Regions from separate parts of the Homo sapiens genome. Here regions 2, 3, 4, 5, 6 and 7 are each linked to region 1. Evidence: promoter capture Hi-C in 16 types of primary human blood cells and fetal thymus (Javierre and others, 2016). All regions are on one chromosome and are shown on one strand. Each heading gives the region's core, a stretch centred on a gene start or on the middle of the fragment in contact. The rest is flanking DNA. Distances are from core to core; before and after follow the strand shown.

Region 1 (2,925 bases), core at 264-2,763:
TTGAGACGCAGTTTTTGCCCAGGCTGGAGTGCAATGGCGCAATCTCGGCTCACTGCAACTTCCACCTCCCGGGTTTCAAGCAATTCTCCTGCCTCAGCCTTCCAAGTAGTTGGGATTACAGGCATGCGCCACCACGCCCAGCTAATTTTGTATTTTTAGTAGAGATGGGGTTTCTCCATGTTGGTCAGGCTGGCCTCGAACTCTCGACCTCAGGTGATCCGCCCGCCTCGGCCTCCCAAAATGCTGGGATTACAGGCGTGAGCCACCGTGTCCAGCCTCGGAAAACTCTTAATTGCTTCCCATTTTTAGTTCTGGCAGCTCTCTCCATATTTGTGGAAACTATTCATTGGATTATCAATGTAAGGTATTATCTGTCGACTCACTTCTAAAATAGATCAGGATTTAACACTCCTCTCCACCTCTTCCCTCTCTCTGAATTTCTAACAGTTTATTACCTCATGTTCTAGAGATAATCTTTCAATTGTATACTTAAACCTCGATTTTTTTTTGTTTCGTTGCTCAAAGTTAGTTAGATATTGGCCCTGTTGTCTTCCATCAGCTGCACCTTTACCTTTACGTCAAGGTTGAGAACATTGACCTTCAGGTCTGTCATCCTGCTTAAGAGTTTCCGTGCTTTGTCTGCAAGATGGTGCTTAAAGCTTTACCTAGGAGCAGTATTTGCTGGGTTATGTCGGTGGAGGACAGCGTGCTCTGCCTCGCTGGCTACTAAGTGCTGGAGCTGCAGCCTGTCCCCTCCAGGTGCAATGTCACGTCCCCAGATGCTTAACTTGTGGTCTAGGGGTACCTTTTAAAAATCGTTGCAACACTGCTTACAATTTTCGCCCTCCAAGTGGACAGCTTCGGGCATCCCTCACCGCCCCAGATTCTCAAGGGGGTCTGGTGCCCACCGTTTTATGTAGCGTGAGTTTAATTCCCAGGGCTCAGATGTCAAGGAGACAAGAGCTACCGCTCAGTGGGCGTTTTCTCAACCCAAACTCCCGATCGACCTCGAGTCTCCCCGCCGGACCCGGAGCAAATCTCAGAGTCAAGATGCGAGAAGGGGTGGCCGGGCGGCGGACCTCAGGCTTCCGGCACCCTTGCGCTTCCCGCCGGCACGAAGGACTCCCCTGGACAACCGCCCGCCTCTCAGAGGCCGGAGTCCTAGGCCCTCCGGCCTGCGTTGCCTGTCCACAGACGCGCCGGCCTCGGGACACCCACCACAGGGGTAAGACGCGCCTCTGCCAGCTCCCCAGCCCGAAACCCAGAACGCCCTCCTAGGAGCCTCACAGCGCAGATCAGGGGACGGGCTTTCGGCCGCACCCCTTCACTCTTTCCCCGCCTTCTTTGTTTATTCCGGACCCACCATTGGCTGCTTGCCCTCGATACCGGGCGAGCCGCCGGTCTTTGGAGAGAGGCGATTGGACGAAGTCCCTGCCGCTCGGCCAGCAGCCCGCTCGCGATTGGTTGAGGCGCCGCCGGGGGTTTGAATCGCATCCCCGGCCGGGGAGGGTTCTGCCAAAGTGCCACGTTGGGCCCGGCGGCGGCGTGAAGACTGGCGGCTGCGTGAGACTCCGGCTCCAGGCGTTCGCACCGTAATGCCCGGCCGTTGGGGCCGTCGGTAGGCGCGAGGCGAGTCGAGGCAGCCGGCCGGTCGGCGGCCGCCGGCGGGAACGGGGCTGAGGCGGCGCAGCGGAGTCTGGGCGGCGGCGCGTCCCGCCCGAGGGCGGCTCTGGCTGAGGGCGGAGGGGCCGGGGAAGAGCCCGGGGCAGCGGCTGAGGCGGGACGGCGGCGGGGGCCGCTGCCCCTAGAAGACCCAGCCGAGATGCTGGCGGAAAACCTGGTAGAGGAGTTTGAGATGAAGGAGGACGAGCCGTGGTACGACCACCAGGACCTCCAGCAAGGTGAGGGCGGGGGCGCCCCGCGGGCGGGCGGCGGCCTGGCCCGGGAGGCCCCCGCTGCGAAACTGTTAAAAAGTTGCTTTTTGTGGCGGCGGAGGATGCAGGTGCCGGGAAGGGCTCAGGCTCACCTGGCGGCTGGGCCGGCCGTGCCCGCGGATCCCGCCCGCAGGAAGCCTCGGCACGGGGCCCACGGCCTTGCTAATGCGCAGTTGAATATCAGCCCCGAGGCGCGTGGGGGCCAGGGACGAGCCAGGCACCGTTTTAAGCGCTTTCCGTGGATTAGCTAGTTTAATCCTCACTGCATTCCTCCGAGGCAGACCCGGGTGAGCCAGTGTGTCCCGCAGTAAGTGGCATAGCCCGAGAAGCCGCCCCGTCGCAGGCTGTCTAGCCCAGCGCCTTTCATGGCCAGCGTGGAGGGCCGGCTGCTGCAGGTGGTAGTTGTTTTGCGGCGTAGCGGGAGCTGTGCGCTCCGCACCGTAACTCCAGGAGACAGTAACTTTTTAAAAATTAATGTTTGAGGGTACATGGTAGGTGTATATATTTGTGGGGTACATGAGATGTTTGGATACAGGCACGCAGTGTGAAATAAGCACGTGATGGAGAACGGGGCGTCCATCCCAGCATTTATCCATTGAGGTACAAACAATCCAATTACACACTTTTGTTATCCCATTTTCCATATGAGGAAAGCGGAGATTAAAACGGTAAAGTGGCTTGCCTAAAGCTAAGTGTGGGAGGGAGTGTTTTTTGAACCCACACACTCAGAAGAAGAGTTGTAGTCACTGCTCAAACCCCATCTCTTCCTTACCATCCTAGTTTACAGTTTTTTTCAGTTGGGCGTTAAGCTGTTAGGCATAGTTCACCAGATGCCAATTGAAACGACAGAAGAAAGAGCGCATCTATCTCTGCCACTTTTCTTCAGTTTGCACGCCAGCTTTCACTTAGAAACAGGCCTGCCGATGGTGTCTCCAGAGAACAATCGTAGAGTAGCCCACTCTTTGGGGCCAGTGGGGCCCCTGTTTTTCTT
Region 2 (2,925 bases), core at 199-2,698, 1.2 Mb after region 1:
AGTTTCTAAAGAAAATAATTTACAAACTATTGTCTGCTTTTTTTTTTTAACTTTCATTTTAGTTCCAGGAGTACATGTGGAGGTTTGTTACATGGGTAAATTGCATGTCACAGGGGTTTGGTGTACAGATTATCATTCAGGTAATAAGCATAGTACCCAATAGTTTTTTTTATCTTCACTCTCCTCCCACCCTCCACCTCCATGTAGGCCCCAATGTCTGTTGGTCCCATCTTTATTTCCATATGTACCCAATGTTTAGCTCCCACTTATATGTGAGAACATATGGTGTTTGGTTTTCTGTTCCTGCATTAGTTCACTTAGGATAATGGCTTCTAGCTGTATCCATGTTGCTGCAAAGGACACAATCTCATTCGTTTTTATAACTGTGTAGTATTCTGTGATGTATATGGCACCACATTTTCTTTATCCACCATTGACGGACATTTTTTGATTCCATTTTTGCTATTGTGATAGTGCTTTCCACAGTGACTGAACTAATTTACTTTCCCACCAGCAATGTGTAAGCATTCCCTTTTCTCCACAAACTCGCCAGCATCTGTTATTTTTTGACTTTTTAGTAATAGCCATTCTGACTGGTTTCAGATGGTATCTCATTGTGGTTTGCTCTTTGGGTCCATTCAATTCCCCTAAAAATCATTTACAATCCTTCAAGTTGCCTACATTTCCCCCATCTCCCTCTATGTAAGTTTCAATCATTTGGCCTTTCTTTGAGTCTCATATTTTTGGAACTCCTGTGTTCATGTGCATGTTAATAAATTTGAATATGCCTTTTCTCCTGTTCATCTGTCTATTGCCAGTTCATTTCAGGGATCCTTCAGAGGGTAGAGAGGAAGCTTGTCCTTCACTCCTACAATAGTGTCACTATCCACTACTGGCTCAAGCTAAAAACCTAGGTGCCACCTTGTGTCCCCCTTTCCTTCTCCATCATCACCAAGTGCTGCTGGCCCTCAAAATGAGGAAGGTCTCCATTACATTTGCCCTAATTTTTTTTTTTTTTTTTTTTTTTTGAGAGAGAGTCTCGCTCTGTCGCCTAGGCTGGAGTACAGTGGTGCGATCTCAGATCACTGCAATCTCCACCTCCCAGGTTCAAGTGATTTGCCTGCTTCAGCCTCCTGAGTAGCTGGAATTACAGGTGCCCGCCATCACACCCAGCTAATTTTTGTATTTTTAGTAGAGACGGGGTTTCACCATGTTGGCCAGGCTGGTCTTGAACTCCTGACCCCAAGTGATCCTTGGCCGCCCAAAGTGCTGGGATTACAGGCATGAGCCACTGTGCTCAGCCTAGTGTAAGTTTTAAGTCACAATTATCCTCTCTGCTCTTGGGCCTCCATAGACCTCCCAACTAGCCTTCCTGCTTTAAATCCATTGGCCATGGAGTGATCTTTAAAAACCCAAGTCTGATCACGTCACTCTCCCATGTAAGATTCTTCATTGTCTTTCCTTTGCTCTTTGGCATAAACCAGTGGTCCTCAACCTTTTTGGCACCAGGGACAAGTTTTGTGGAAGACAATTTTTCCATGGATGAGGCGTGGGTAGGGGGGTGGTTTCAGGATGATTCAAGTGCATTCCATTTATCGTGCAGCTTATTTCTATTATGATTACATTGTAATACATAATGAAATAATTACACAACTTACCATAATGTAGAATCAGTGGGAGCCCTGAGCTTGTTTTCCTACAACTAGACAATCCCAACTGGGGGTGACGGGAGACAGTGACAGATCATCAGGCATTAGATTCTCATAAGGATCATGCAACCTAGATCCCTTGCATGTGCAGTTCACATGAGGGTTCATGTTCCTATGAGAATCTAATGCCACTGCTGATCTGACAGGAGGTGAAGCTCAGGCAGCAATGCTTGCTCACCTGCTGCTCACCTCCTGCTGTATGGCCTGGTTCCTAACAGGCCAAGGACCGGTACTGGTTGGGGACCCCTGGTGTAAACTCACTCCATGAGGTCCTGCATGATGAGGCCCAGCCATGCTGACATCATTTTTTTCCCTTAAACACATTAAGCTTCTTCCCATCTCTGGGCCTTTGGGATACTGTGCCCTCTGCTAGGAACACCCTCCCTGTGTGCTTGGCATGGTGACAACTCATGTTTTGGTTCAAATAGAAGAAATCTCTGATTGCTGTGGCTAAAGCATGCTCTCCCAATTACTTACCACCCTTTTACTTATCTTCAGCGGAGTTGGTCTAATATTTTGTTTACTTGTTGTAGCAAGGTGGACTACTAAGGACCCTAGTAAGGACTCTTAAGGCAGAGCCCATGGTCCCCTCTGTGGTTTACCTGCCCTTGGGTGATCCCCTCCTCATGAGAGTGGGTGGTGGTTTCTGGGACTCGTTTCTAACCAGCAGAACACAGATAAAGTGATCCAGTGTTCATGATTGTGCATGCATGATTACGTTCCCTAAGAATGTAACGTCTATCTTGCTGAGAGGCTCTCCCTTGATGGCTTTGAAGAAGCCATTGACCACACTGAACTGTCATGGGGAGGGGAATATGCAGCAAGGAATGGAGGGCTTAAGTCGTGTTGCCAGCTGGATGCTGCCAACAACCATGTGAGCTTGGAATGTGGTCCTTCCCCAGTCAGACCCCAAATGAGAACACAGCCCTGATGACACTGTGATCACAGGCTTACAAAAGATCTAGCCAAGCCATGCCTGGACCCCTAACACATGAAGAATGTGAGATAAGAAATGCCTGTTCTTTTAAGCCAATAGTTGCTGGTAAACTGTTACATAGCAACAGATATGCTTGCTCACTCACTCTTGCATTAGAAAGAAAACTTCAGAAGGGAGACCATTGCATTCTTCATTATTAAAGCTGCAGAACCCAGCTGGGTAGATAGCATAGAGAGATAATATCAGACAGTTGTATGAATGAAGGAAACATCCAATAAA
Region 3 (2,925 bases), core at 1-2,500, 1.2 Mb after region 1:
GTGAGATTCCTCCGCCAACCAATTTACATGGAAGTGAGAGTCCTAAACAGGGATGACCCCAACATCAAGCTGGTCTTAGATGACTGCTGGGCGACGTCCACCATGGATCCAGACTCTTTCCCCCAGTGGAACGTTGTCGTGGATGGGTAGGTACTCCCTGTACTATCAGGTTACCCAGCTAATCCATCAAAACTTGCCAGTAATGGGAATAAACCCTCTTGGGCTTTAGAGCAGCATTCAGTCATGTGAGATCCAGATTTAGTCCTTGTTTTCTAATTGGGACTCTTCTGCCTTCTGTTTTTTTTTTTTTTGTTTTGAGATGGGGTCTCATTCTGTCACCCAGGTTGGGGTGCTGCGGCATGATCTTAGCTCACTGTAGCCCCTGCCTCCTGGGTTCAAGCAATTCTCCTACCTCAGCCTCCTGGGTAGCTGAGATTACAGGGGCACACCACCAAGCCCAGCTAATTTTTGCTATCTTAGTAGAGACAGGGTTTTGCCATGTTGGCCAGGCTGGTCTCGAACTCCTGACTTCAGGTGATCCACCTACCTTGGCCTCCCAAAGTACTGGGATTACAGGTGTGAACCACCACACTTGGCCACATGCTGCCTTCCAATCACCTCTTGAATCTTAAGGAATGAGTTCCAAAGCCCCAGAAAGTCTGACTCTACTATGGTGTTGATCATCTGGAAAGACTGGTCTCTAGCCTCTATCCATCTGAACACCTACCATATGCCAGGCACAGTGCTATGTATTCCACATCCACTAGTTGTACTAGTCTTCGTCTTTCATGAAGAAACCCCAGCTTGCTGCCTAAATAACCAGCCCAAAACAATACTTAAACAATGGAGCTTGTATTAGAATATCCATCTGACTCTAGAATCTGAGCACTGATGCTCTGAGGTTGCAGCCACACACTTGTACACATAGGTGTTCAACCTTACAGCTCTCCTGCCGTGTCCTGTCCTACAACTGGATCTCACCCATTCTTATGGAATAGTGTGTACTTGGCTAAAACTGCACCTTTGCTTTCTTGAAGCTGTGGTAGCTCAGTTACTAAGCCTTCTGTTTTGTTTTTGAGACGAGGTCTCACTCTTGTCCCCCAGGCTGGAGTGCAATGGCACAATCTCAGCTCACTGCAACCTCCGCCTCCCAGATTCAAGCGATTCACCTGCCTTAGCCTCCCAAGTAGCTGGGACTACAGGTGCCTGCCACCATGCCCAGCTAATTTTTATATCTTTAGTAGAAACGGGGTTTCACCATGTTGGCCAGGCTGGTCTTAGACTCCTGACCTCAGGTGATCTGCCCACCTCAGCCTCCCACAGTTCTGGGATTACAGGTGTGAGCTACTGCACCTGGCCAAGAAACCAGTGTCTTCTGAAATGATATAATTTGTACTTCTCATGTAGTTGGCAAACAGGTACTGCTAAAATAGTTAAAATATAACTAGTCTATACAACTTATGATTTCATAGGTATTATAGGTCAGGTAAGAAATGCTGAGTAAAACAAAGGTGCTGGTAGAAGGTAAATATGGCAATAGTTCTGAAGATATTACGTATGACTAAATCTGGGCAGACATTGAATTTGACTCCAAGATGCATATGACTGACATCCCTCCCTGGTGCATACCTCCTAGCTGTGCATATGACCTGGACAACTACCAGACCACCTTCCATCCAGTCGGCTCCTCTGTGACCCATCCTGATCACTATCAGAGGTTTGACATGAAGGCTTTTGCCTTTGTATCAGAAGCCCACGTGCTCTCTAGCCTGGTAAGTGATTCAGAAGTCACCAGGGACAGGTTAAATGTTAGTGCATCGATTCCATGTAACTCTCTTCTGTCTCCAGGTCTACTTCCACTGCAGTGCCTTAATCTGTAATCGACTCTCCCCTGACTCCCCACTGTGTTCTGTGACCTGCCCTGTGTCCTCTAGGCACAGGCGAGGTAAAAACTTCAAATTCCTGTTTCTGTGAGTCTAATTCAAAGCAAGTATCAACTTTTTAGAATAGAAGATCTTAAGGACTGGTATAACTCATACTTTATTTACTGCCCAGAGCTCTTGTTGGCCCAGTCAAAACTTGGTCCAGTCTACCTTACTCATGTGACAGGTCTAAGATGAACAGTTTCTTGTCTAGTTCTATAGACGATGAGTTCTTTAAGAATCTATCCTTTTTTTTTTTTTTTTTTTTTTTTTTGAGACAGTTTTGCTCTTGTTGCCCAGGCTGGAGTAAGATGGTGTGATCTTGGCTCATTCCACCTCCAGGGTTCAAGGGAAATGATTCTCCTGCCTGAGCCTCCCAAGTAGCTGGGATTATAGGAACCCCCCCAACATACCCAGCTAACTTTTATATCTTTAGTAGAGACAGGGTTTCACCATGTTGGCCAGGCCAGGCTGGTCTCAATCTCCTGACCTCAGGTGATCCACCTACCTCGGCCTCCCAAAAGTGCTGGGATTATAGGCATGAGCCACCACACCCAACCCCAAGAATCCATCCCACTTCTACAGTAAAGGGCATAACCTCGCCTGCAAAGGCAAGACAAACCACATGAACAAAATACTCCAGAGAGCTTCTACTTCTAAGCATTCCATTGACACACCTCTCGAACCACTATTCCAGAGGCCAAACACAAACTTGATCATCTGTCTCCAGCCACAGGGGCCACTGAAGCAGAGAAAATGACAGTCAGCCTCCCAGGACCCATTCTCCTGTTGTCAGATGACTCCTCATTCAGAGGTATGGACCTAAAGCCTGGAGTACTTCCTGGATTCAAGTTCTTAGCTTTTTATGCCAAGCGGTCAGTGCTTACATATACTATGTACCCGTGGTGAGTCTAAACAATAGAAGAATAAAAGACTAAGTCTCTTCCCAGAAGTAGGCTTCTATTAAGTCTCCTGTGTACCCTTCTAGAAATCACTTCAACAC
Region 4 (2,925 bases), core at 304-2,803, 1.2 Mb after region 1:
TTGAATGGAATCTGGATTTTCAGCTTCCAGATGAGAAACTGAAGATCATGACAATTACCTCTGCCTGAGCTGGGAAGCAGTTCTTTTTTTTCTTTTTTCTTTTTTTTTAAGATGCAGTTTTGCTCTTGTTGCCCAGGCTGGAGTGCAATGGCGCGATCTCAGCTCACTGCAACCTCCGCCTCCTGGGTTCAAGTGATTCTCCTGCCTCAGCCTCCAGAGTACCTGGGATTACAGGCATGCGCCACCATGCCCGGCTAATTTTTTTGTATTTTTAGTAGACAGGAGGTTTCTCCGGGTTGGTCAGGTTAGTCTCGAACTCCCAACCTCAGGGGATCCACCCACCTTGGCCTCCCAAAGTGCTGGGATTACAGGTGTGAGCCGCTGTGCCCAGCCAAAGCAGTTATTTCTTTAGATGCAGCCTGGACTCAACAGTCCACATCACCCCCAGCTGCCCAGAGCTGTAATCCTGACCCTGAGGGCAATAGTTAGTCACTTGCCATTCTCATCACACTAAAGCCATTTCCTTGCACCCAACCGACTTCACTCATGTACAGTATTTGCCTTGCTCCAGTAACCATGTCGAATGGCCTTTTGAGTGTGACAATGTCCTATCATTTCCTCTCACATCAGTTACATCCTAACCCTCCCTCATTTCCTTCTGTGCCAATCAGTCACCAAATACATATTATGCGCCTGTGTGAAAGCTCTTCTAGTCCCCATTTCCAGCATGTCTGGCCAATTCTCAAGCATTAAAAAGGCTGTTCTCTTGGGGATATGGGGATATTTACACCTGCACTCACAGGGTTATAAGACTTAAGCAAACTTGCATATTGCCCAATTGCAGTTGAATTACTGATCAGTAGAAAGAACACACACACACTTGCAGGATAATTTCCCAGGTTAGCCAAGGATACAGAAGTGGCCACGCAGAGCAAAATTAGCTGCTATGTGTTTTAGTAACACTTTATCCTGGTCCCATTGTGGAGAAAAGAGAGATCAGACTGTTACTGTGTCTATGTAGAAAGAAGTAGACATAAGAGACTCCATTTTGTTCTGTACTAAGAAAAATTCTTCTGCCTTGAGATGCTGTTAATCTGTAACCCTACCCCCAACCCTGTGCTCCCAGAAACATGCTGTGTTGACTCAAGGTTTAATGGATTTAGGGCTATGCAGGATGTGCTTTGTTAAACAAATGCTTGAAGGCAGTATGCTTGTTAAAAGTCATCACCACTCCCTAATCTCAAGTACCCAGGGACACAAAACACTGCGGAAGGCCGCAGGGACCTCTGCCTAGGAAAGCCAGGTATTGTCCAAGTTTTCTCCCCATGTGATAGTCTGAAATATGGCCTCGCGGGAAGGGAAAGACCTGACTGTCCCCCAGCCCAACACCCGTAAAGGGTCTGTGCTGAGAAGGATTAGTAAAAGAGGAAGGCCTCTTTGCAGTTGAGATAAGAGAAAGGCACCTGTCTCCTGCTCGTCCCTGGGCAATAGAATGTCTCAGTGTAAAACCGGATTGTATGTTCCATCTACTGAGATAGGAGAAAACTGCCTTAAGGCTGGAGGTGAGACATGCTGGCGGTAATACTGCTCTTTAATGCACCAGATATGTTTCTGTATGTGCACATCAAGGCACAGCACCTTTTCTAACTTTGTTTATGACACAGAGACATTTGTTCACATGTTTTCCTGCTGAACCTCTCCCCACTATTACCCTATTGTCCTGCCACATCCCCCTTTCCGAGATGGTAGAGATAATGATCAATAAATACTAAGGGAACTCAGAGACTGGTGCCGGCATGGTCCTCCGTATGCTGAGCGACGATCCCCTGGGCCCACTTTTCTTTCTCTATACTTTGTCTCTGTGTCTCTTTCTTTTCTTAGTCTCTCATCCCACCCGACAAGAAAACACCCACAGGTTTGGAGGGGCAGGGCACCCCTTCATCCCATAGTGTCATTGCTGTGTGGGCATCTTACACACTCTCTGAACAAGCAGAGTCCTGCCATAGTTAAAAACAGCAGCTTATTTCTTGCTATATCACTGCCCCTTTATATGCAAGCTACTCTAGAAAAACATATATATGTATCTATATGCATGCATAAACATACACATACACATACCACTAATCTCTTACAATATTGACTTCTCTTGGTTCTTGAAACAACCTCAGCATAGGCAAACCCACATACCCATCTAGGATAAAGACAACCAAATGAGTATCCAGGTATTCTCCAACAAGAATCAAACAAGTAGAAGAAAACTGCAGAGCTCGAAGACAAGGCTTTTGAGTTAACCCAATCCAACAAAGACAAAGAAAAACGGATTTTAAAAATGAACAAAGTCTCCAAGAAGTTTGGGAGTATGTTAAATGACCAAACCTAAGAATAATTGGCATTCCTGAGGAAGAAGAGAAATCTAAAAGTTTGAAAAAGATATTTGAGGGAATAATTGAGGAAAACTTCCTTGGCCTTGTTAAAGATCTAGACATCCAAATACAAGAAGCTCAAAGAACACCCAGGAAATTCACCGTAAAAAGATTATCATGTAGGCACATAATGATCAAATTCAAGATGAAGGAAAGAATCTTAAGAGCTGTGAGGCAAAAGCATCAGGTAACCTATAAAGGAAAAACTATCAGATTAACAGCAGATTTCTCAGCAGAAACCCTACAGGCTAGAAGGGATTGGGGTCCTGTCTTTAGCCTTCTTAAACAAAATAATTATCAGCCAAGAATTTGGTATCCAGTGAAACTATGCTTCATAAATGAAGGAAAAACACAGTTTTTTTTCAAACAAATGCTGAGAGAATTTGCCACTACCAAGCCAGCACTACAAGAACTGCTAAAAGTAGCTCAAAATCTTGAAACAAATCTTCAAAATATACCAAAATAGAACCTCCTTAAGGCATTGTCTCACAGGACTTATAAA
Region 5 (2,925 bases), core at 308-2,807, 1.1 Mb after region 1:
GCAGGCAGATTACCTGAGGTCAGGAGTTCAAGACCAGCCTGACCAACATGGAAAAACCCCATCTGTACTAAAAAAAAAAAAAAAAAAAAAAAAAAAAAAATTAGCTGGGCATGGTGGCAGGTGCCTGTAATCCCAGCTACTTGGGAGGCTGAGGCAAGGGAATTGCTTGAATCCTGGAGGCGGAGGTTACAGTGAGCCAAGATCACACCACTGCACTCCAGCCTGGACAACGAGTGAGACTCAGTCTCCAAAAAAAAAAAAAAAATTCACACCAATAAATATGAAACTACAACGCTGACAAGTGCTGTAAGAGTGTAAAGCAGTATGTCTTGATCTAGCCTGTGGCTGTGTCTCTGTAGGGGATATTTGAGCTGAGATTGAAGGATAATCAGTTACTTGTGAGGGGGAGAGGGGACAAAGCAGCCTAGCATCGTATGGCAAGGAATTAATTCATGCAAAGGCCCTGTGGTTGAAGGAAGTACATGAGCTTGGGAAGCTGCAAGGAAGCCAGTATGGCTGGAAGACAGGAAGTGCAGGGGAACATGGCATGGTGGTATGAGAGACAGCTTTAGAGATAGGAGGGCCAGACCATGCAAGGCCTTGGCAAATGCAAATGAAACAGACTTTCAGACTCTTTAAATGAGAAACCCAGCAGATTCATATACGTGTACTTAATAACCTGCATGCTTAGGAGAAAAGATTGAAGTGCCACTAATGCTGTTTAATAAATCTTATAAACATATGATTAAAAATCGGCTGGGTGCAGTGGCTTACACCTGTAATCCCAGCACTTTTGGAGGCCGAGGCAGGTGGATCACTTGAGGTCAGGAGTTCGAGACCAGCCTGGCCAACATGGCGAAACCCCATCTTTACCAAAAAAAAAAAAAAAAATTAGCCAAGTATGGTGGCACATACCTGTAATCCCAGCTACTCGGGAGGCTGAGGCATGAGAATCGCTTGAACCCAGGAAGCAGAGGTTGCAGTGAGCTGAGATCACACCGCTGCATTCCAGCCTGGGCGACAAAGCGAGACTGTCTCGGAAAAAAAAAAAAATTTTAAAAATATCAATTATCACACTATTACCAGGGCAACAAATTATCAAGTAAGACAACCAATTAGAATTACACATTTAGTTTAGGAAGTTGAAGGTTATTTTTATGGGATACTGTAACAATTTCTGAAGCTCACCTGTACTTTCAAGAATAGATTCATATTAACTGAGAACAGAAGAAAATGGTAACAATTAAGGAAAAAAATCTAATTATCCTTATCAGACAGCAACATAAGATTTCTAGTCTTGTGGATATTATCATTTTGAAACCTTTTCAAATCAGAGACGTTAAACTATATTTTATGGCACAGAATGGTATCTCTCCTTCGGTAGCTGCAGGAGATAAAATTAATTCCTAATATTTCAGAGATGCTGTTTTGCTAGTAATTAGTAGTTAAGAAGACTTTTCACTTTTTAAATATTATACTCCAAAATTCCAGTGAGTAGCATTTTATAAAAGAACAGACCACAGGGAACTCAAAGTTTACTAAATGGAATAGAGAAAAGGCAGAAGAGGGTTTTATTTAATACATATGGTGTCGAGGGCCAAGTGATGTCTTTCCTCTATGCCAGTGGTTCTCCACTGAGCATGAGTTTGCCACCTGCTCCAGAGACATTTAGGAGTGTGCAGACGTTTTTAGTTCCCACAACTTGAAGGGGTGGAAAATGCTACTAACATCTAATGGATAGAAACCAGAGATACTGTTGCACATCCTATAATACACAGGTTGGTGCCCCTCCCCAATAAAGAATTGTCCAGCCCAAATGTTAGTAGTACCGAGGTTGAGAAGCCCAGTGCTACCTCTTGTAGGTCATAGTAGGTATGTACCAGTTCTGTGCAAATAAGACTACCTCTGTCCTCATGGGGCTTAAAGACCTGTAGAAGAAAATCTACAAACAAATAAGTGCTATGGCCTGGTGCATTCTATCAAGGAGGTCAGAAAGGCTTCATTGGAGAGGTGGCACTGGACGTGAGTTGATCACAGAATCCTGCTCTCAAACACAGACACCCTCAGGAGATGCCACAAATGCTAATTCTACATTCGTCTTTAGAGGAAGACAGAGGCAGTGAAAAGATCAACAGAGTTGGCCCAGTGAATATAGCTAGAACCCTGGGAAGGAAGGGCTCACAGAATCCAGGCAGCTCTTAGAAGCAGCTCAGAGCTCTGAGAAGTGGGTATGGCTGAGCATGTACCTGAGATATGAAGAAAGGACATGGGCTTTGGAGTATGGAAGACGTGACTTTAGAGCCACACTGTGCCCTTCAATAGTTGTAAGACCTGGCTAGGTGCGGTGGCTCACGTCTGTAATCCCAGTACTTTGGGAGGCCGAGGTGCACAGATCACCTGAGGTCAGGAGTTTGAGACCAGCCTGGCCAACATGGTGAAACCCCATCTCTATCGAAAATACAAAAATTAGCTGGGTGTTGTGGCGCACACCTATAATCCCAGCTCCACGGGGGGCTGAGGTAGGATAATCACTGGAACCCAGGAGGCAGAGGTTGCAATGAGCCAAGATCGTGCCACTGCACTCCAGCCTAGGCGACAGAGCGAGACTCCATCTCAAAAAAAAAGAAAAGAAAGAAAGAAAGAAAAAGAAATAAATAAATAATTTTAAAAAGTAGTTGTAAGACCCAGAGCAAGTTCACCTTTCTGTTACCAGGGCAACCTCAGTCTCTTCATCTGTAAGAAGAAGATAGTAGGAGTCCCCAACTCGTAGGGTCAATGTCTAGACTAAATGAGATCATGGGGGCAAAGCATTGGCATACATTAGCTGTTCAGTGAAGCCTTCTTCCTTCTTTTCCCACTTGATACGGGGGAAACTAGACACAAAAGGAAATTCTCTTGATTGCCTGCAAGCTCTTGAGGGAGGCA
Region 6 (2,925 bases), core at 217-2,716, 1.1 Mb after region 1:
TGCTCATCCCAAGGTTATAAATGGGTACCAGCAGGAATGAATCAAGCAGAAAGTTTTTAAAAGTATTATTCCAATCTGCAATGAAAAAGATAATGTTAGCATGCTTTATATGAAATGAACTGTCCCAGGATAACAAAAGTCTCCCAAGTTGATAAAATTAAACAGAGAAAATTAAAAGCTGTAACATTATTCTCACAAACCCTCCGTTTTTAGCATAAAGTATACTACCCCTGATTTCTTGAAACATAGTTTGTGTTGATAATTACAGCTTTGGAAAATCCTTTTGGGAAAGCTGATGTCCATATCATCTGTCTTCCTGTCATCTCATGCGAACAAGAAACCAATGCTGATTATTTCTCATACCGTTTATTTTATATAACCAATGAAAAAGCAAAGATGTGATAGGAAATGTAGCCTAGGACTCAACAGTGGAAAGAGGATAAGGAATATATCATCAGTTGAAAGGACATACATCCTCAGAGAAACAAACTTGATGCTGAGATTCCTCTAAATACTAAATTAAATATGTATAACAGTTTATGAATATATATGAGTAAATAAGAAACATGTTTAAGAGGTAAGGCTCTGAACTGTCACTGTAAGACTTCAAGACTGAGTTCAAATTACTGGAAAAAAAGATGAAATTATAAGTCTGAGCAAAAAGCATATTTGTAAGATGCTTTTGTGGCCAGAATTGGTTCCCTCCCGTGGGTTCTTGGTCTCGCTGACTTCAAGAAAGAAGCCACGGACCCTTGCGGTGAGTGTTACAATTCTTAAAGATGGTGTGTCCAGAGTTGTTCCTTCAGATGTTCAGATGTGTCCCGAGTTTCTTCCTTCCAGTGGGTTTGTGGTCTTGCTGACCTCAGGAGAGAAGCTGCAGACCTTTGTAGTGAGTGTTACAGCTCTTAAAGGTGGCACATCCAGGTTGTTTGTCCCTCCCGGTGGGTTCGTGGTCTCACTGACTTAAGGAATGAAGCCTACAACCTTCGTGGTTAGTGTTACAGTTCACAAAGGTAGTGTGGACCCAAACAGTGAGCAGCAGCAAGACTTATTGTGAACAGCAAAAGAAAAAAGTTCCCACAGCATGGAAGGGGATCCGACATTGCCACTGCTGGCTCTGGTGGCCAGCTTTTATTCCCTTATTTGGCCCCACCCACATCCTGCTGATTGGTCCATTTTACAGAACACTGATTGGTCCATTTTACAGAGTGCTGATTGGTCCATTTTACAGAGTGCTGATTGGTCCATTTTACAGAGTGCTGATTGGTCCATTTACAATCCTTTAGCTAGACACAGAGTGCTGATTGGTGCAATTTTACAGAGTGCTGATTGGTGTGTTTACAATCCTTTAGCTAGACACAAAAGTTCTCCAAGTCCCCACTCCACCCAGAAGCCCAGCTGGCAATCAGTACTCTGTAAAATGGACCAATCGGCACTCTGTAAATGGGCCAATCAGCGCTCTGTAAAATGGGCCAATCAGCAGGATGTGGGCAGGGCCAAATAAGGGAATAAAAGCCGGGCACCTGTGCCAGCAGCCCAGCTGGCTTCAACTCTCACTTTGACAGAAGAGAGGGTGTCACCTGAGTGAGGAGGTAGAGGGTAAGTTTGCACCTAATATGTAAATTCTTATGACATTCTTATGACAAAATGGTAGAAGTATGTCTTTCCCTATCAGTGATTACATTAAATATAAATAGATTACTGCTCCAATTAAAGGATAGAGATTGGCAGAATGGATTTTAACAAGCATGATCCAACCATATGCTACCTACAACAGATTCAATTTAAATTTAAAGGCACAAATAAAAGTTTAAAAGACAGAAAAATATATTCAATGCAAACGGTAACCAAAAGAGAGCTGGAATGATTCTACTAATGTCAGACAAAATAGGCTTTAAGATAAAAACGGTTATAAGAGATGAAGGACATTATATACTATTAAATGGGTTAATTCATGAAGAAGATACAACAGTAACAAACATATATGGTCCTAACAACACAGCCCTAAAATATATGAAGCAAAAACTGACAGATTTAAGGGCTTTCAACAATAGTAGTTGGAGATGTCAATACCCCACTTTAAATAATTATAGAACAACTACATTGATCAAACAAATATAAGATATGAACAACAAAATAAACCACCTGACCTAAAGGTATATATAAAATACTCTACCCAACAATAACAAAATACACATTTTTTTCTCAAGTGTACATAAAAAAATTATCCAGGACAGACCATTAATTAGGCCACAAAACAAGTCTTAATAAATTATAAAAAACTGAAATAATATGAAGCATCTTATTATGACTGCAATGGAACAAAATTAGAAATCAGTAACAGAAGGAAATCTGAAAATACACAAATATGTGTAAATTAGACAATACAAACTTAAGCAACAAATGAGTCAGATAAAAAATCATAAGGGAAATTAGAAAATACTTTGACATGAATGAAAACAAAAATATGGTATACCAAAACTTATAAGAAAAGCAGTTTAGTTTTTTCACATTTATTCTTACATTTAAAACTATTTCAAATAAATAATCTAGTCTTCCACCTTAAAAACTGGAAAAAGAAGAGCAAACCAAACCCAAAGCCGGTGGAAGGCAGGAAATAATAAAGACTAAAACAGAGATAAATAGAGAATGTAAAAACAACAGGCCAGGGAAAATATACAATCCCTTTAAAGAATCAACACAAATCAAAGACCTTTATATTGACTGACCAAAATAAGAAAGAAGCCTCAAATTATTAAAATCAGGAAACTAAGAGAAGACATTACTACCAATCTTACAAAAATTAAAAAACATTACAAGAGAATACTATGAACAAATGTAGGGCAATTGATAACCTAGATGAAAAGGACACAATTCATAACCTAGATGAAAAGGACACATTTCTAGAAACACACAAACTACAAA
Region 7 (2,925 bases), core at 304-2,803, 1.1 Mb after region 1:
AGCACTCTGTATCTAGCTCAAGGTTTGTAAACACACCAATCAGCACCCTGTGTTTAGCTCAAGGTTTGTGAGTGCACCAATCGAAACTCTGTATCTAACTAATCTGATGGGGACGTGGAGAACCTTTGTATCTAGCTCAGGGATTGTAAACGCACCAATCAGCGCCCTGACAAAACAGGCCACTCAGCTCTACCAATCAGCAGGATGTAGGTGGGGCCAGATAAGAGAATAAAAGCAGGCTGCCCTAGCCAGCATTGGCAACCCGCCCGGGTCCCCTTCCACACTGTGAAAGCTTTGTTCTTTCGCTCTTTGCAATAAATCTTGCTACTGCTCACTCGTTGGGTCCACGCTGCTTTTATGAGCCGTAACACTCACCGCGAAGATCTGCAGGTTCACTCCTGAGCCCAGCGAGACCACGAACCCACCGGGAGGAACGAACAACTCCAGACGCGCTGCCTTAAGAGCTGTAACACTCACTGCGAAGGTCTGCAGCTTCACTCCTGAGCCAGCGAGACCACGAACCCACCAGAAGGAAGAAACTCCGAACACATCTGAACATCAGAAAGGACAGACTCCAGACGCGCCACCTTAAGAGCTGTAACACTCACCGCGAGGGTCCGTGGGTTCATTCTTGAAGTCAGTGAGACCAAGAACCCACCAATTCTGGGGACACTACCATGGCTCCAGGACTCAGTTCTTCACAGACCTAGCTTCTGGACTAGCAACCATACACCCAGCCTCCAGGCTGGCACCAGTGGACACAGGCTACAGGTAAGCCCCAACTAGGCACAATGCTAATGCCTAGTTCTAGACCCCTGAGGATAGCAAAATCCATGGATGCTCAATGTCTTATATAAAATGGTGTAGTATTTGCATATAATCTACACACATACTCCTTATGCCTCAGATTTTCTCTAGATACTCATAGTACCTAATATAAAATCTATATAAATATTTGTTACACTGTATTGCTTTTTATTTGCATTATTATCATATTATTATTTTTTTACTATTTTTGGCCCAGAGTTGAATCTGTGGATGTAGAACACACAGATATGGGGGGGTCAATTGTACACATTCTTCTCAAGCACACACAGAACGTTCTCCAGGAGAGTTCATATGTTAGGCCACAAGATAAATCTTAATAAATTTATGAAGCCTGAAATCCATTTCAAATACCTTTTCCGGCCACAATGGTATTATACTAACAATCAAAAATAGACAGAATTTCAGAAAATGCAGACGCATATGGTAATTAAACAACATTCTCCCAAACAACCAATGGGTCAATGTAGAAATTAAAGGGATCATTTAAAAATATCTTGAGGCAAATGAAGACGGAAACACAACATACAAAAATATATAAGATATATAGTATACAGCAAAAATGGTTCTAAGAGTGAAGTTTATAGCAATAAACATCTACATCAAAAAAGAAGAAAGATCTCAAACACCCTAACATTATAACTAGAAACTAGGTATAGGAACTACAATTGGAAACTAGAAAACCAGGAACTAGGAAAACAAGGACAAACTAAGCACAAAGTTCACAGAAGGAAGGATAAAATAAAGATCAGAGCAGAAATAAATGAAATAGAGACTAAAGAAACAATAGAAAAAAAATCAACAAAACTTGTGAAAAAGATAAAACAGACAAACTTTTAGCTAGAATAACTAATAAAAAAGGAGAGGAGATTCAAGTAAAATCAGAAATAAAAAAGGAAACATTATAATGGATACTACAGACATACAAATTATCATTAGAGACTATGATGACAATTATGTCAACAAATTAGATAACCTAGAAGAAATGAAAAAATTCCTACCTGTATTAATCCTACCAAGTATTAATCACAAAGAAAAAGAAAATCTGAACAGACTGATAACAGACTGATAAAATAGACTGACAACAGACTGATAACAAATAGACTGATTAAAAAAAAAGATTGAATCAGTAATAAAAAGTCTCCCATTAAAGAAAAGCCTAGAATCAGATGGCTTCTGGGCTGAATTCTACAAAACATTTAAATAAGAAATAGGACCAATCCTTATCAAACTCCAAAAAGTTGAAGAAAAAATATTTCCAAACACATCTTATGAAGCCAGCACTATCGTGACACCAAAGCCAGACAAGGACATACAAGAAAATTACAGGCTGGCCAGGCACGGTGGCTCATGACTGTAATCCCAGCACTTTGGGAGGCCGAGATGAGCAGGGCAGGAGTCTGAGACCAGCCTGGCCAACGTGGTGAAACCCCATCTCTACTAAAAATACAAAAATTAGCTGAGCATGGTAGCACATGCCTGTGATCCCAGCTACTCGGGAGGCTGAGGCAAGAGAATTGTTTGAACGTGGGAGGCGGCAGAGGTTGCAGTAAGCTGATATCATGCCACTGCGCTCCAGCCTGGGCAACAGAGTGAGACTCCATCTCAAAAAAAAAAAAAAAATTACAGGCTAATATCCCTGATGAACATAGATGCAAAAATCCTCAACAAAATACTAGCAAACTGAATTCAACAGCATATTAAAAGGATCATTCACTCACCACAATAAAGTGAGACTTATCTTTGAGATCCAAGGATGGTTCAACATATGCAAGTAAATATTAATACACCACATTAACAGAATAAAGGACAAAGACCATATATTATCTCAACAGATGCAGAAGAAGCATTTGACAAAATTCAATATCCTTTCATGATAAAAACTCTAACCATATTAGGCACTGAAGGAATGTAACTCAACACAATAAAGACTATATATGACAAGCTCACCATTAATATCATACACAAGAGTAAAAAATAGAAAGCTTTTTCCAAAAGTATCTCAGGAAAGGTACAAAGATGTCCACTCTTACGACTCCTATTCAATATAGTAATGGAAGACCTAGCCAGAGCAATCAGGCAAAAAAAGAAAGAGAAGCC

Evidence for each region. Contacts are between HindIII fragments. The CHiCAGO score rates a contact against its expected background, and 5 or more counts as called.
Region 2: a fragment that was not itself captured here is called in contact with the fragment with the promoter of CDR2 in region 1 in 2 of 17 cell types (erythroblasts and M0 macrophages); the score reaches 9.7 in erythroblasts.
Region 3: a contact is called between a fragment that was not itself captured here and the fragment with the promoter of CDR2 in region 1, in 1 of 17 cell types (erythroblasts). The highest score is 5.4, in erythroblasts.
Region 4: a contact is called between a fragment that was not itself captured here and the fragment with the promoter of CDR2 in region 1, in 1 of 17 cell types (erythroblasts). The highest score is 5.3, in erythroblasts.
Region 5: a fragment that was not itself captured here is called in contact with the fragment with the promoter of CDR2 in region 1 in 1 of 17 cell types (erythroblasts); the score reaches 10.2 in erythroblasts.
Region 6: a fragment that was not itself captured here is called in contact with the fragment with the promoter of CDR2 in region 1 in 2 of 17 cell types (erythroblasts and fetal thymus); the score reaches 10.5 in erythroblasts.
Region 7: a fragment that was not itself captured here is called in contact with the fragment with the promoter of CDR2 in region 1 in 1 of 17 cell types (erythroblasts); the score reaches 7.6 in erythroblasts.

The regions. Positions count from the first base shown.
Region 1 is chr16:22,373,207-22,376,131 of GRCh38, reverse strand. It overlaps CDR2 (cerebellar degeneration related protein 2), which reads left to right and starts at 1,513. Exons shown (of 5, transcript NM_001802.2): 1 at 1,513-1,901. The coding sequence starts at 1,823. It overlaps CDR2-DT (CDR2 divergent transcript), which reads right to left and starts at 1,245. Exons shown (of 3, transcript NR_148970.1): 1 at 909-1,245; 2 at 572-805. RefSeq lists enhancers at 741-790, 1,131-1,210 and a silencer at 1,751-1,980. The HindIII fragment of the contact is 4,746 bases long and covers 662-2,925 here.
Region 2 is chr16:21,181,228-21,184,152 of GRCh38, reverse strand. No RefSeq gene overlaps it. Among named protein-coding and RNA genes, the nearest start is that of LDAF1, 24 kb to the right of the region's middle. The HindIII fragment of the contact is 1,183 bases long and covers 857-2,039 here.
Region 3 is chr16:21,198,590-21,201,514 of GRCh38, reverse strand. ZP2 (zona pellucida glycoprotein 2) reads left to right here. Exons shown (of 19, transcript NM_001376232.1): 14 at 1-146; 15 at 1,637-1,772; 16 at 1,849-1,945; 17 at 2,653-2,736. Among named protein-coding and RNA genes, the nearest start is that of ZP2, 12 kb to the left of the region's middle. The HindIII fragment of the contact is 6,462 bases long and covers 1-2,925 here.
Region 4 is chr16:21,220,803-21,223,727 of GRCh38, reverse strand. No RefSeq gene overlaps it. Among named protein-coding and RNA genes, the nearest start is that of ZP2, 11 kb to the right of the region's middle. RefSeq lists enhancers at 519-1,044, 1,045-1,569. The HindIII fragment of the contact is 4,138 bases long and covers 1-2,925 here.
Region 5 is chr16:21,269,992-21,272,916 of GRCh38, reverse strand. The region is part of intron 3 of CRYM (crystallin mu); the gene reads left to right. Among named protein-coding and RNA genes, the nearest start is that of CRYM, 6.8 kb to the left of the region's middle. The HindIII fragment of the contact is 3,636 bases long and covers 1-2,925 here.
Region 6 is chr16:21,288,328-21,291,252 of GRCh38, reverse strand. It overlaps LOC105371125 (a long non-coding RNA gene), which reads right to left and starts at 783. Exons shown (of 3, transcript XR_950905.3): 1 at 751-783; 2 at 1-75. It also overlaps a transcript of CRYM not described here. The HindIII fragment of the contact is 3,512 bases long and covers 1-2,925 here.
Region 7 is chr16:21,309,594-21,312,518 of GRCh38, reverse strand. It overlaps the pseudogene ABCA15P. Among named protein-coding and RNA genes, the nearest start is that of CRYM, 33 kb to the right of the region's middle. The HindIII fragment of the contact is 2,518 bases long and covers 295-2,812 here.